Linked DNA regions of Homo sapiens: region 2 is linked to region 1. Evidence: promoter capture Hi-C in 16 types of primary human blood cells and fetal thymus (Javierre and others, 2016). All regions are on one chromosome and are shown on one strand. Each heading gives the region's core, a stretch centred on a gene start or on the middle of the fragment in contact. The rest is flanking DNA. Distances are from core to core; before and after follow the strand shown. Region 1 holds the start of UBXN6 (UBX domain protein 6). Region 2 holds the start of DPP9 (dipeptidyl peptidase 9).

Region 1 (5,899 bases), core at 2,960-5,459:
AGGCTGGTCTTGAACTCCTGACCTTGTGATCCACCCACCTCAGACTCCCAAAGTACTGGGATTATAGGGGTGAGCCACTGTGCCTGGCCTGTTATTTTTATTTTTTAGTAGAAACAAGGTCTCACTATGTTACCCATCCTGGTCTTGAACATCAGGGCTCAAGCAATCCTCCTCCCTCGGCCCCCCAGTGTTCTGGGATTACAGGCGTGAGCCACTGCGCAAGATTGAACAATTTTTAAAAAATTACCCGGAGGCCGGGTGCAGTGGCTCACGCCTGTAATCCCAGCACTTTGGGAGGCTGAAACAGGCGGATCACCTGAGGTCAGGAGTTCAAGACCAGCCTGACCAACATGGAGAAACCCTGTGTCTACTAAAAATACAAAAAAGTAGCCAGGCATGGTGGCGGGTGCCTGTAATCTCAACTACTCGGGAGGCTGAGGCAGGAGAATCCGAGAGATGGAGGTTGTGGTGAGCCGAGATCGCACCATTGCACTACAGCCTGGGCAACAAGAGCGAAATTCCTTCTCAAAAAAAAAAAAAAAAAAAAAATTAGCTGAGTGTGGTGGCACATGCCTGCAGTCCCAGCTTCTTGGGAAGCTGAGTGGGGAGGACTGCTTGAGCTCAGAAGTTCTAGGCTGCAGTGAGCCATGATTGTGCCACTGCACTCCAGCGTGGGGAAGAGAGTAAGACCCTGTCTAAAAAAAAAAAGAAAGCTGGGCATGGTGGCTCATGCCTGTAATCCCAGCACTTTGGGAGGCCGAGGCGGGCGGATCACGGGGTCAGGAGATCGAGACCATCTTGGCTAACACGGTGAAACCCCGTCTCTACTAAAAATACAAAAAATTAGCCGGGTGTGGTGGCGGGCGCCTGTAGTCCCAGCTAGTCGGGAGGCTGAGGCAGGAGAATGGTGTGAACCTGGGAGGTGGAGCTTGCAGTGAGCCAAGATTGTGCCACTGCACTGCAGCCTGGGCAACAGAGCGAGACTCCATCTCAAAAAAAAAAAAAAGAAAAGAAAAGAAAAGAAAAATAAATGTTGTCCTCCCAAAGTGCTGGAATTACTGGTGTGAGCCACCGACCGCTCCTGGCAGAAATGTTAAATTATTTAATCTCATAACCTCATCCGACATGAGGAAGATAGTCCAGGAGAGCGTCATGGTGGAAGAGGATTGAGTTAGGCAGAGGAAGAGAAGTCCCTTCTGGTAAAGGAGAATGCCTAGGCAAAGGCCCAGAGGTGAGCTGGAAATACTTCCAGGTAACTGAGGCAGAGGTGGAAAGGTGGGTGATAACAAGAAACGGGGTTTCTGAAACCCTCAGAATACTTAGAACCTGAAATAGAAATTTATTAGGGCCTATTAATGTTAGGATCTCCTTAGACCAGGCTGAGGAACCCCATAGGATTTTATTCTTGGAGAAGTGGGATGGGTCTCTGCCACTTTCCAGCTGTGTGACTTTGGCCCAGTGTTGTACCTTTATTTGAGTTATAGGGTATACAATTCCTTATTCACAACAATGAGCTGTAATTTTCTTTTCTTTTCTTTTTGAGACGGAGTCTTGCTCTGTTGCCAAGCTGGATTGCAGTGGCGCAGTCTCGGCTCACTGCAACCTCTGCTTCCCAAGTTCAGGTGATTCTCCTGCCTTAGCCTCCTGAGTAGCTGGGATTACAGGCATGAGCCACCGTGCCCGGCATACTGAGAACTTTCTAATCACATGATCACCCCTACAATCTATAGAGAGTGTTATTCTTATCCCCATTTCATAGATAGGAGACTGGAGATCAGAAAGATTGAAGTTTGGGTTGCACTGTATTCTTCTTTTATTTATTTATTTTTTTACTTTATTTATTTATTTTTGAGACAGAGTCTCGCTCTGTCGCCCAGGCTGGAGTGCAGTGGTGCAATCTCAGCTCACTGCAACCTCTGTCTCCTGCGTTCAAGTGATTCTGCTGCCTCAGCTTCTCAAGTAGCTGGGATTACTGGCACACACCACCACACCCGGCTGATTTTTGTATTTTTAATAGAGACGGGGTTTTGCTATGTTGGCCAGGTCGGTCTTGAACTTCTGACCTTAAGTGATCCACCCGCCTTGACCTCCCAAAGTGCTGGGATTACAGGTGTGAGCCACCGCACCTGGCCCAATTCTTTTCCTTTTTTTTTTTTTTTTGAAACGGAGTCTTGCTCTGTTGCCCAGGCTGGAGCACAGTGGCATGATCTCGGCTCACTGTAAGCTCTGCCTCCTGGGTTCACGCCATTCTCCTGCCTCAGCCTCCCAAGTAGCTGGGACTACAGGCGCCCGCCACCAAGGCTGGCTAATTTTTTTAAAAATTATTTTCAGTAAAGACAGGGTTTCACCGTATTAGCCGGGATGGTCTCAATCTCCTGACCTCGTGATCCACCCGCCTCGGCCTTCCAAAGGGCTGGGATTACAGGCATGAGCCACCGTGCCTGGCCTTTTTTTCTTTTTTTAATAAGACAGGGTCTGGCTCTGTTGCCCAGGCTGGAGTGCAGTGGCGTGATCCTAGCTTACTGCAGCCTCCAATTCCTGGGCTAAAGCAATCCTCCCACCTTGGCCTCCCAAAATGTTGGGACTGCAGGCCTGAGCCACCCGTCCAACCCATGATATTTCAATTTCAGTCTTGGGGTGGGCTGTTTCCTCACCTGGAGGCTTCTCCTCCATCAGTCTCTGTGTATCTCATTCCAACTCCTTCTTTTTTGAGGCAGAGTCTCCCTCTGTTGCCCAGGCTGAAGTGCAATGGCGAGATCTCGGCTCACTGCAACCTCCACCTGCCGGGTTCAAGCGATTCTCCTGCCTCAGCCTCCCGAGTAGCTGGGATTACCGGTGCCCATAGAGACAGGCTTTCACCATGTTGGCCAGGCTGGTCTCAAACTCCTGACCTCAAGTGATCCGCCGGCCTCGGCCTCCCAAAGTGCTGGGATTAGAGGCATGAGCCACCACGTCTGACCCCCAACTCCCATTTTTTGAGGCTTGTTTTAACTGTCACTTTGTGTATCTTCTTTGTGGATTGCACAGACCAAAGTACGCCACTATTAACTGGTGTCCACCAAAGTGGATCCCCAATCCCCAGGTCCCAATTGGGTGCATTGGGTGCATCCTCTTTTTTTTTTTTTTTTTTTTTTTTTGAGACGGAGTCTCGCTCTGTCGCCCAGGCTGGAGTGCAGTGGTGAGATCTCGGCTCACTGCAAGCTCCGCCTCGCGGGTTCACGCCATTCTCCTGCCTCAGCCTCCCGAGTAGCTGTGAGTACAGACGCCTGCCACCATGCCCGGCTAATTTTTTGTATTTTTAGTAGAGACGGGGTATCACCGTGTTAGCCAGGATGGTCTCGATCTCCTGACCTTGTGATCCGCCCGCTTCGGCCTCCCAAAGTGCTGGGATTACAGGCATGAGCCACCGCGCCCGGCCCAGGTGCATCCTCTTAAACAGCTCCTACCTAGGGTACGTGGTGATGGTGGCGGGGGGGTGCTTCAGGCACCAAAACAGGCCAGATCGTGGGGGCCTCCAATACCCAACATTGAATTGGGATTTTATCACGTAAGCTCTGGGGAGACAGAGAAGGTTGGAATTTTTTTTGTTTTGCTTGAGACAGGGTCTCTCTCTGTCGCCCAGGCTGGAATGCAGTGGCTTGATCACAGCTCACTGCAGCCTCGACCTCTTGGGTTCAAGCGATCCTCCCGCCTCTGCCTCCCAAGTAGCTGAGAGGCGCGCGCCACCACCCTCGGCTAATTTATTTTATTTTATTTTTTTTTTTTTTATAGAGACGAGGTTTTGCCATGTTGCCAGGCTGGTCTCCAACTTCTGGGATCAAGCAATCCTTCCGCTTGAGCCTCCAAAGTGCTGTGATTGCAGGCGTGAGCCACCGCGCCTAGTTTAGGTTGAGCAGCGAAAGGGATAGGGCCCAGTGCTTTCTCTGCGAGGTTCAGTTGGCCTGTCCCTGTCCTATCACCGTTTGTCACCGTTTGGGGAGCGCCACGGAATGCCCTGTCTCCAATCGAGAGGTGCACTCGTCGCCCTGGCAACGGAGTCCGGAAGAACCACAGAGACGCGGCTCCAGCGTACAGAGCGGCCGCCCTGGGCCAGCAAGGCACCGAGCGCTAGAGAGGCACGTCTAGTCGATTGTCACGTGGCAGGCCAGGGGAAGGCGGGACTTCCGGCGGCGAGGTAAATTTTTTTTTTTTTTTTTTTTTTTTTTTTAATTTTCTTCCGGTGGCTGGTCTCCGGCGGCCCCGTCCCCGACTGGGCCCCGTGCCCCCCCGCCCCCGCGGCCCCCCGCCGCCGGGCCAGCCGCCACCATGAAGAAATTCTTTCAGGAGTTCAAGGCCGACATCAAGTTCAAGAGCGCGGGACCCGGTCAGAAGCTCAAAGAGTCCGTGGGGTGCGTGAGGAACGCAGGGGCTTGAGGCCCTGCGGGGCGGGGACGGCCGGGGAGAGAGATCTGGGGCCTTGGGCGGCTCGGGAGATCGGAGAGGATGAGGGGCTGGGAGCGGCACGCGAGGGTCAGGGGAGGGGGAGAGGCGCCGGGGGCGGACGAAGTCGGGCCGAGGGTGGGCGTCAGGGGGAGGGGAGAGAGATCTGGGGGCGGGGCAGGAGGGGGCGGGTATGACCCGGGGGCGCGGCGGGGGAGGCGAGGGGAGGGGAACTAGCGCAGGGGGCGGGGCGGGAGGGGAGGTCTCGGGGGCGGGGCCGCAGGAGGGTCCGATGCAGTGGCGGGGGATTAGGGCGACGGGGCTGTAGGCAGTTGGGGGTCAGTGGAACGACCTTTGGGGAAAAACGGGATCATGAGTCCTGAGCCGGGTGGTGAGGGAGAGCTCTGTCTGGGGACCCGGCTGGCCGAAGAGGCCGGGATGATTTGGGGCAATCTAGGTGACCATGGATGGGAGCTGAGCTTGGAGGAGGACGCACAGCTGTGGGGTGGGGTGGTGAAGAGTTGTTTTGAGGTATCCATGGGAAGAGGGGTTCTGGATTTGGTATCTGGAGCACGTGGGAGGCTGATGGGAGACTAGAAAGAGTCTGGAAGGCCAGGGAGGCCGGGGTGGGCAGCGTCGTCAGTGACCTGGGATGTCCTGGCGAATTGAGAGGGAGGGGCTGAGGAAGGTGTGTGAGGAGAGTGGAGGTGAGGGATTCTGACAGATGGACTCTTACCCGGGAGGGGCCTGAGAGGAGAAGACGGGTGAGACAGACGCGTCTTAGCAGGCTGGGAGAAAGAGCTTCTCTGCGAGGCTTCTCTGCCACGTCACTGTGCCAAGTGGATTATGGAAGTGGGAGAGGAGGGGAAAGGAGATAGATGCCGGGCAGGCTTCCGGATTGTCTAGGGAGGACTTGGAGAGAAGGGCCTGAGCAGGGCTGAGCCAGCTGGGAGGGCCGGGGAAGAAGTGGAGCTAGGGAAGGTGCAAGGCTGAGGGCTGTTGGGTTGAGAAAAGGGAAACTGGAGAGCTGGGGCCGCTGCAGGGAGCTGGCTGGCCAGAGGGTGGTGGGGACTGATGGAGAGGGACTGAGGAAGTCAGCCAGGCAGCCAGGACACGGGTCTGTAAGCAATAGTGGAAGGGATTGTGAGGGAGTGGGGGCTGGGAGAGGCAGGGAGGTGGCAGGAAGTGGGGGTCAGGAATCACGGGGCAGTGGGGTGGTGATGGAGGTAGGGGCATAGTGAGGACGTCAGGGTTCCTGGGGGAGAGCAGGAGAGCAAAGGCTGAGTGAGGGAGGGAGAGGGGTCAGGGAGAGAAGGGGGCAAATCGGGGGAGCCCTTCATTGATTCAACCAATAGTGGGTGGGGGGTGCTGGGGCCACTGGGACTGGGCATGATAGGAAGGATGCAGGGTATCGGGGTGATGGCTGGATCAGCCCAGAGCCTGGGCGGAGAGGGGAAGGTTGGAGGGGAAGGTTGGGAAA
Region 2 (6,135 bases), core at 2,470-4,969, 270 kb before region 1:
TGCTGGGATTACAGGCGTGAGCCACCTCGCCCGGCCTAGAATACATTCTTAATGTTGTGAGTTTTAATATATCTACTTTTAATGTTTCAATATGGTTTCAACAGCATTCTGAGAGAAATAACCATTAAAATACATAAAATCAGGACAGGGATAGTGGCTCAGCCTTGTAATCCTAGCACTTTGGGAACCCAAGTCGGGAGGATTACTCGAGCGCAGGAGTTTGAGACCAGCTTGGGAGAGATAGCGAGACCCCATCTCTACTAAAAATTTTTTTAAAAATTAGCCAGGCATAGTGGCACCCACCTGTGGTCCCATCTACACGGGAGGCTTGCGGTGGGAGGATCCCTTGATCCCAGGAGGTCGAGGCTGCAGTGAGCTGTGATTGCACCACCGCACTCCAGCCTGGGTGACAGTGAGACCCTGTCTCAAAAACACCCAAAAACCCCTCAAAACACATAAAAACAGGCACAGAGAGGTACACATTTTAGACTCCAATAGAATTTGGCAAATCTCTACGAAAACTTGCCTCAATGGAAACTTTTGACAATTTGTTCATGATGGAGTTATTTACCAGTAATTATTTTATTTTTATTTGTTTAAATTTATTTATTTATTTATTTATTTATTTATTTATTTATTTAGAGACAGAGTCTCACTGTCGCCCAGTCTGGAGTGCAGTGGCGCGATCTCCACTCAGTGCAAGCTCCGCCTCCCGGGTTCATGCCATTCTCCTGCCTCAGCCTCCCGAGTAGCTGGGACTACAGGCGCCTGCTACCACGCCCGGCTAATTTTTTGTATTTTTAGTAGAGACGGAGTTTCACCGTGTTAGCCAGGATGGTCTCGATCTCCTGATCTCGTGATCCGCCCGTGTTGGCCTCCCAAAGTGCTGGGATTACAGGCGTGAGCCACCGCTCCCGGCCAACCAATAATTAAATTTTCTTTCTTTTTTTTTTTTTTTTGAGAGGGAGTCTCGCTCTGTCGCCCAGTCTGGAGTGCAGTGGCGCGATCTCGGCTCACTGCAAGCTCCGCCTCCCGGGTTCACGCCATTCTCCTGCCTCAGCCTCTCGAGTAGCTGGGACTAATTTTTTTGTATTTTTAGTACAGACGGGGTTTCACCATGTTAGCCAGGATGGTCTCGATCTCCTGACCTCGTGATCCGCCCTCCTCAGCCTCCCAAAGTGCTGGGATTACAGGCGTGAGCCACTGCGCCCGGCTAATTTTTAAAAGAATATTATGGTGGGGTGCAGTGGCTCACGCCTGTAATCCCAGCACTTTGGGAGGCGGAGGCGGGCGTATCACTTGAGCTCGGAAGTTCAAGACCAGCCTGGCCAACATGGTGGAATCCCATCTCTACGAAAAATACAAAAATTAGCCTGGCATAGTGGCTCATGTTTGTAATCCCAGCTACTAGGGAGGCTGAGGCACGAGAATAGCTTGAACCTGGGAGGTGGAGGTTGCAGTAAGTCAAGATTGTGCCACTGTACTCCAGCGACAACAGAGAGAGAAAAAAAGATGTATTGAAATATTATTTATCTTGATTATTGAGTTTTTTGGCACCACCTTAATTTTTGCACCTGGTGCCAGTGCCTTACAATGCTTTAGTCTCCTCACCCTAATCCCAGCCCCGCAGGAGTGAGGGTGTGCAGAATTTTACAGCAGTCTGATTCTAAATTCTTGCCATCATCTTCCCACCTCTTCTACTGTCTCTTTAAGAAAATAAAGAGGCCTGGCGTGGTGGCACATGCCTGTAATCCCAGCACTCTGGGAGACTCAGGCGGGCGGATCTCTTGAGGTCAGGAGTTCGAGACCAGCCATGACCAATATGGCGAAACTCCATCTTTAGTAAAAATACAAAATATAGTCAGGCGTGGTGGCGGGTGCCTGTAATCCCCGCTACTTGGGAGGCTGAGGCAGGAGAATCGCTTGAATCCGGGAGGCGGAGGTTGTAGTGAGCTGAGATTGCGCTACTACATTCTAGCCTGGGCAACAGGAGCAAAACTCCATCGGAAGGTAAACACATACACACACAGTTTTTCTTTTCAGAAAGCTCTTTTACAGTGTAGTTGGGGTCGGGCGCGGTGGCTCATGCCTGTAATCCCAGTACTTTGGGAGGCTGCAGGCGGGCGAATCACGTTGAGGTCAGGAGCTGGAAAGCAGCCTGGGCAACATAGTGCAGGCCCTCTAGTCTCTACAAAAAATACAAAAGTTAGCTGGGAGTGGTTGCACACGCCTGTAGTCCCAGCTATAAGGCACCGTCTCTACAAACGCATTTTTTAAAATTCAGCCAGGCGTGGTGGTCCACACCTGTGGTCCAAGCTACCCAGGAGGCTGAGGTGGGAGGATCGCTTGAGCCCAGGAGGTGGAGGCTGCAGGGAGGGATGATCGTACCACTGCACTCGAGCCTAGGCGACAGAACGAGACTCTCTCTAAAAAATACAAAAAACAAAACACACAAAAAAGTAGTTTGATCTAAAGCAAAATGGTGAATATCTGCAGAAACTAATGTGATATCAAGTATAGATTGATATCTATGAGATGAAAAGCTTCATTTGACCCCGGATGGGTTTGTGGGCCGTTTGACGTGCATTGTTTTAATGGAAGGTGGATTTATGATAAAGTGATAAACATGTGTGTGGGTGGGTGGGTGTGTTGGAAAGGGTGTTTATTGGATTTCTTTTTGTCTTCCTTATTTTCCTTCTTTCGGTCTCTACTGTATCAAATACAATAACAGATATTCAGGAAGAGCGGATATTGCTTTAGCTGACTGTAGCCAGTGTTTCTTTGGTGGGACAACGCAACTATCACTGCAACATTATCTCTATAGGAGAATTTAAAGAACCCTGACGCCTACCGGTTTCCGTAGTGTAGCGGTTATCACATTCGCCTCACACGCGAAAGGTCCCCGGTTCGATCCCGGGCGGAAACAGGTCAGCTGTTTTTCCTAACCGGAGAGTAATACTATTTGAAATTCACCGAAAGAACGATTCTAGTCCCATTCTTTCTCTTCCGCCTTCCTCCTGCCTTTTAGACATTTTTATGGGATTTAAAAAAATTTTCCGTGATTGATGGCTCACGCCTGTAATCCCAGCACTTTGAAAGGCCGAAGAGGGCGGATCACCTGAAGTCAGAGTTCGAGACCAGCCTGGCCAAAATGGTGAACCGCCCCCCCCCCCCCACCCCGCCCCACCCCGCCCCACCCCACCCCATCTCTACTAAAAATACAAAAATTAGATGGGCGTGGTGGCGTGCGCTTGTAATCACAGCTACTTGGGAGGCTGAGGCAGGAGAATCGTTTGAACCTGGGAGGTGGTGGTTGCAGTGAGCGGAGATCACGCCACTGCACTCCAGCCTGGGGGACCGAGCGAGACTCCGTCTCAAAACTAAAATGAAAATTTCAAACTCGCAAAAGTGGTACCGCATGCGTTGGCCGGGAATCGAACCCGGGTCAACTGCTTGGAAGGCAGCTATGCTAACCACTATACCACCAACGCCCTGATAGGTAGCATCCTCTCCGGATATCCTTAATAGTGGGGGATCATGGGTTTGACTGAGTGATACCAAGTCACAGGGGGGTGTCTCTCCCTAACCCACCGGAAGATGTCGTTCATGGGGCGTTACGCACCTTAGGCCGCCGCGCCGCGGGCTCCCCCCCAAGCGCCGCGGACGCCTTGGTACGTGCCTGGTGGTGTCCAATCCCAGGCCGCCGCCTGGGTCGCTCAACTTCCGGGTCAAAGGTGCCTGAGCCGGCGGGTCCCCTGTGTCCGCCGCGGCTGTCGTCCCCCGCTCCCGCCACTTCCGGGGTCGCAGTCCCGGGCATGGAGCCGCGACCGTGAGGCGCCGCTGGACCCGGGACGACCTGCCCAGTCCGGCCGCCGCCCCACGTCCCGGTGAGCAGCGCCCGCGCGCCTCGTCCCGCCCCGGCCGCGACCCTGAACCCGCCATTGACCGGCCCCGCCTCGGCCCTGACCCTGCCCTCGCCATCGCCTGGCCTCCCCGCACCCCGGAGCCTCCATGCACCCGTCTGTGGGTCCCTCCGGCCCCCTGCCTCGTTTCCTCTCCGCCCCAGGCCCTCCTCCACCTTCTTTCCCTCCCCGATTCCTGCGCTGGCCAGGCCACCTCCCAGTTTCTCCCCTTCCCTGATGGGCTTCCCCACCCATCCCGTTGCTGCCCAGGCCACCAGGCTCTGACCCCTTCCGGAGGTGGCCGCACCCAAGAACGTCCTCGTAGCTGCAGACCTTGACACCCTCTCCCCTTTCGTGCAGGCTCTGGAGGTCCCGATCTCCTCCCTCTCCCCATGCAAATGCTGTATATGCACAGAGGCCACCTCCCTCGACCTGCATCCTGTCCTCACTCCTTTACCACTTCCTCCAACCTTCGCCCCGAGGCTTGGTCTCCCCAATCCAGTCCTGATCCTCAACCCTACTTGATCCCTCTATTAAGGGTATCCAGAGACTCTTTTTCCTGCCGAGGCGTTGGTGGTGTAGTGGTTAGCATAGCTGTCTTCCAAGGGTCCAGCCCACAGGGTTCAGCCCCCTTCTCTCAGCCTCCCTTCTCAGGCCTGTCCAACCGCCTACCTTCTTCCCACACAGCCTTAGGCCAGCCCTGACACTTCCCTGTTCACGCTGCCTCTGAGCCATCAAAAGTGGTCTATTCCCTTGGCCCCCACCCCCTGGTCTTCCCCAGGGGCCCCAGGAGGAAGTCACTTGCCTCCCAGGCAAGAACCAACCTGCTTTCGAGGAGCTGGGACTAAAGCCCAGGGGGTGTGGACCGTAGGCACCAATCCCTGCATTCCTCTGCTGGGTCCCAGGGGAATCGGGGCCCGTGGGATGGCTTCTCTCCCAGATTCTGTCCAGGGCATGCAGACAGTGCTGCAGGGCTTCAAGGCAGAGCTAGAATCTAGCCAGGTAGAATCGGGCCTGACAGTCTGCAGCTCCTGAGTGGGGGAGGCTGAACGGCTGGCCGGTGCTTCCATTAACCTGCCACATTCATGACATGTTTATCCTATAAAGGTCTGTGTCCCACGCCTGCAGCTGGAATGGAGGCTCTCTGGACCCTTTAGAAGGTCAGTTGTGCTGGGGTTTGGCAGCCAGGAAGGCTGGGGTGTGGGCTGGTGGGATTCCTTTGCCTGCTCTAGAATATAGACATGGGCAGGAAATGGTTTTCTATGGCCCTGGATGGTTGTCCTCCGCAGGGCAGTGGCTGCAGTTTTTTGTGCGCCTGCTGGAGGCTTTTCTTTCCACCCCTGTCCCCCTCTAGCTGCCCCTGGAAGGAGCTTTTTGAAGGCTTTGAGGAGAGGAAGGGGAGAGTGCTGATTTCAGCAGGATTTGGTGGAGGGGTGCCTGGATCCACCTACACTGCCTGACCCGGTCAGTAAATGGTGTGGATTCTGGCCCTGAAAGGACTTTAGTTTGAGTCTCCCCCTTCCTGTGGTTTTGAGTATCTTGTTTAGTTGACAATGCTAGCTGTCATTTAGTTTGTGCTACATCAGACACTGTGTTAAAAGCTGTATGTGTGCAGTCTCATTCAATTCCCTTGGTGGCCCCAGGCGTAGATACTGTCATACCATGTTCTCGCTGGGGAAGTGGAAGCTCAGAGAGGTTCAGCGACTTCCCCAGAAGTGGCAGAGTCAGGATTTGAACCTTTCTCTCTGAGACCAGAGCCCACGCTTTTCACCACTGGACTGAGAGTATGGCCAGTGATTTTTCGTGGTGACTTTATGCTTAACCTCTTCCCTTAAAATCTCAGTCCTGTCCCCATGTGCTTCCCTCTCTTCTTTTGTTTTTGAGACAGAACCTCGCTCTGTCACCCCTGGAGTGCAATGGCACAATCTTAGCTCACTGCAACCTCCGCCTTCTGAGTTCAAGCAATTCTTCTGTCTCAGCCTCCTGAGTAGCTGGGATTACAGGCTTGCACCACCACAGCTGGCTAATTTTTGTATTTTTAGTAGAGCTGGAGTTTCACCATGTTGGCCAGGCTGGTCTCGAACTCCAGACCTCAGGTGATCTGCCCGCCTCAGCCCCCCAAAGTGCTGGGATTAAAGGCGTGAGCCACTGTACCCAGCTGGCCCTCTCTTCTTTAAGCCTTTGGGCAACTGCGCATCATGGGACCTGGCTTGTCTGAGAAGGTAGTTGGGCA

The links. The method cuts DNA at HindIII sites, captures the fragments that hold promoters and counts their contacts. A CHiCAGO score of 5 or more calls a contact.
Region 2: a contact is called between the fragment with the promoter of DPP9 here and the fragment with the promoter of UBXN6 in region 1, in 1 of 17 cell types (neutrophils). The highest score is 5.4, in neutrophils.

The regions. Positions count from the first base shown.
Region 1 is chr19:4,456,104-4,462,002 of GRCh38, reverse strand. UBXN6 (UBX domain protein 6) reads left to right here and starts at 4,209. Exons shown (of 11, transcript NM_025241.3): 1 at 4,209-4,388. The coding sequence starts at 4,306. RefSeq lists an enhancer at 3,948-4,147 and silencers at 4,258-4,307, 4,338-4,407. The HindIII fragment of the contact is 12,393 bases long and covers 1-5,899 here.
Region 2 is chr19:4,721,426-4,727,560 of GRCh38, reverse strand. It overlaps DPP9 (dipeptidyl peptidase 9), which reads left to right and starts at 3,719. Exons shown (of 22, transcript NM_139159.5): 1 at 3,719-3,887; 2 at 5,010-5,062. It overlaps TRG-TCC1-1 (tRNA-Gly (anticodon TCC) 1-1), which reads right to left and starts at 3,491; the gene lies at 3,420-3,491. TRV-CAC3-1 (tRNA-Val (anticodon CAC) 3-1) reads left to right here and starts at 2,854; the gene lies at 2,854-2,926. It overlaps LOC105372250 (a long non-coding RNA gene), which reads right to left and starts at 4,681. Exons shown (of 3, transcript XR_936274.2): 1 at 4,575-4,681; 2 at 2,852-2,941; 3 at 1,974-2,426. RefSeq lists silencers at 2,799-2,998, 3,449-3,538, 3,769-3,918. The HindIII fragment of the contact is 17,947 bases long and covers 2,546-6,135 here.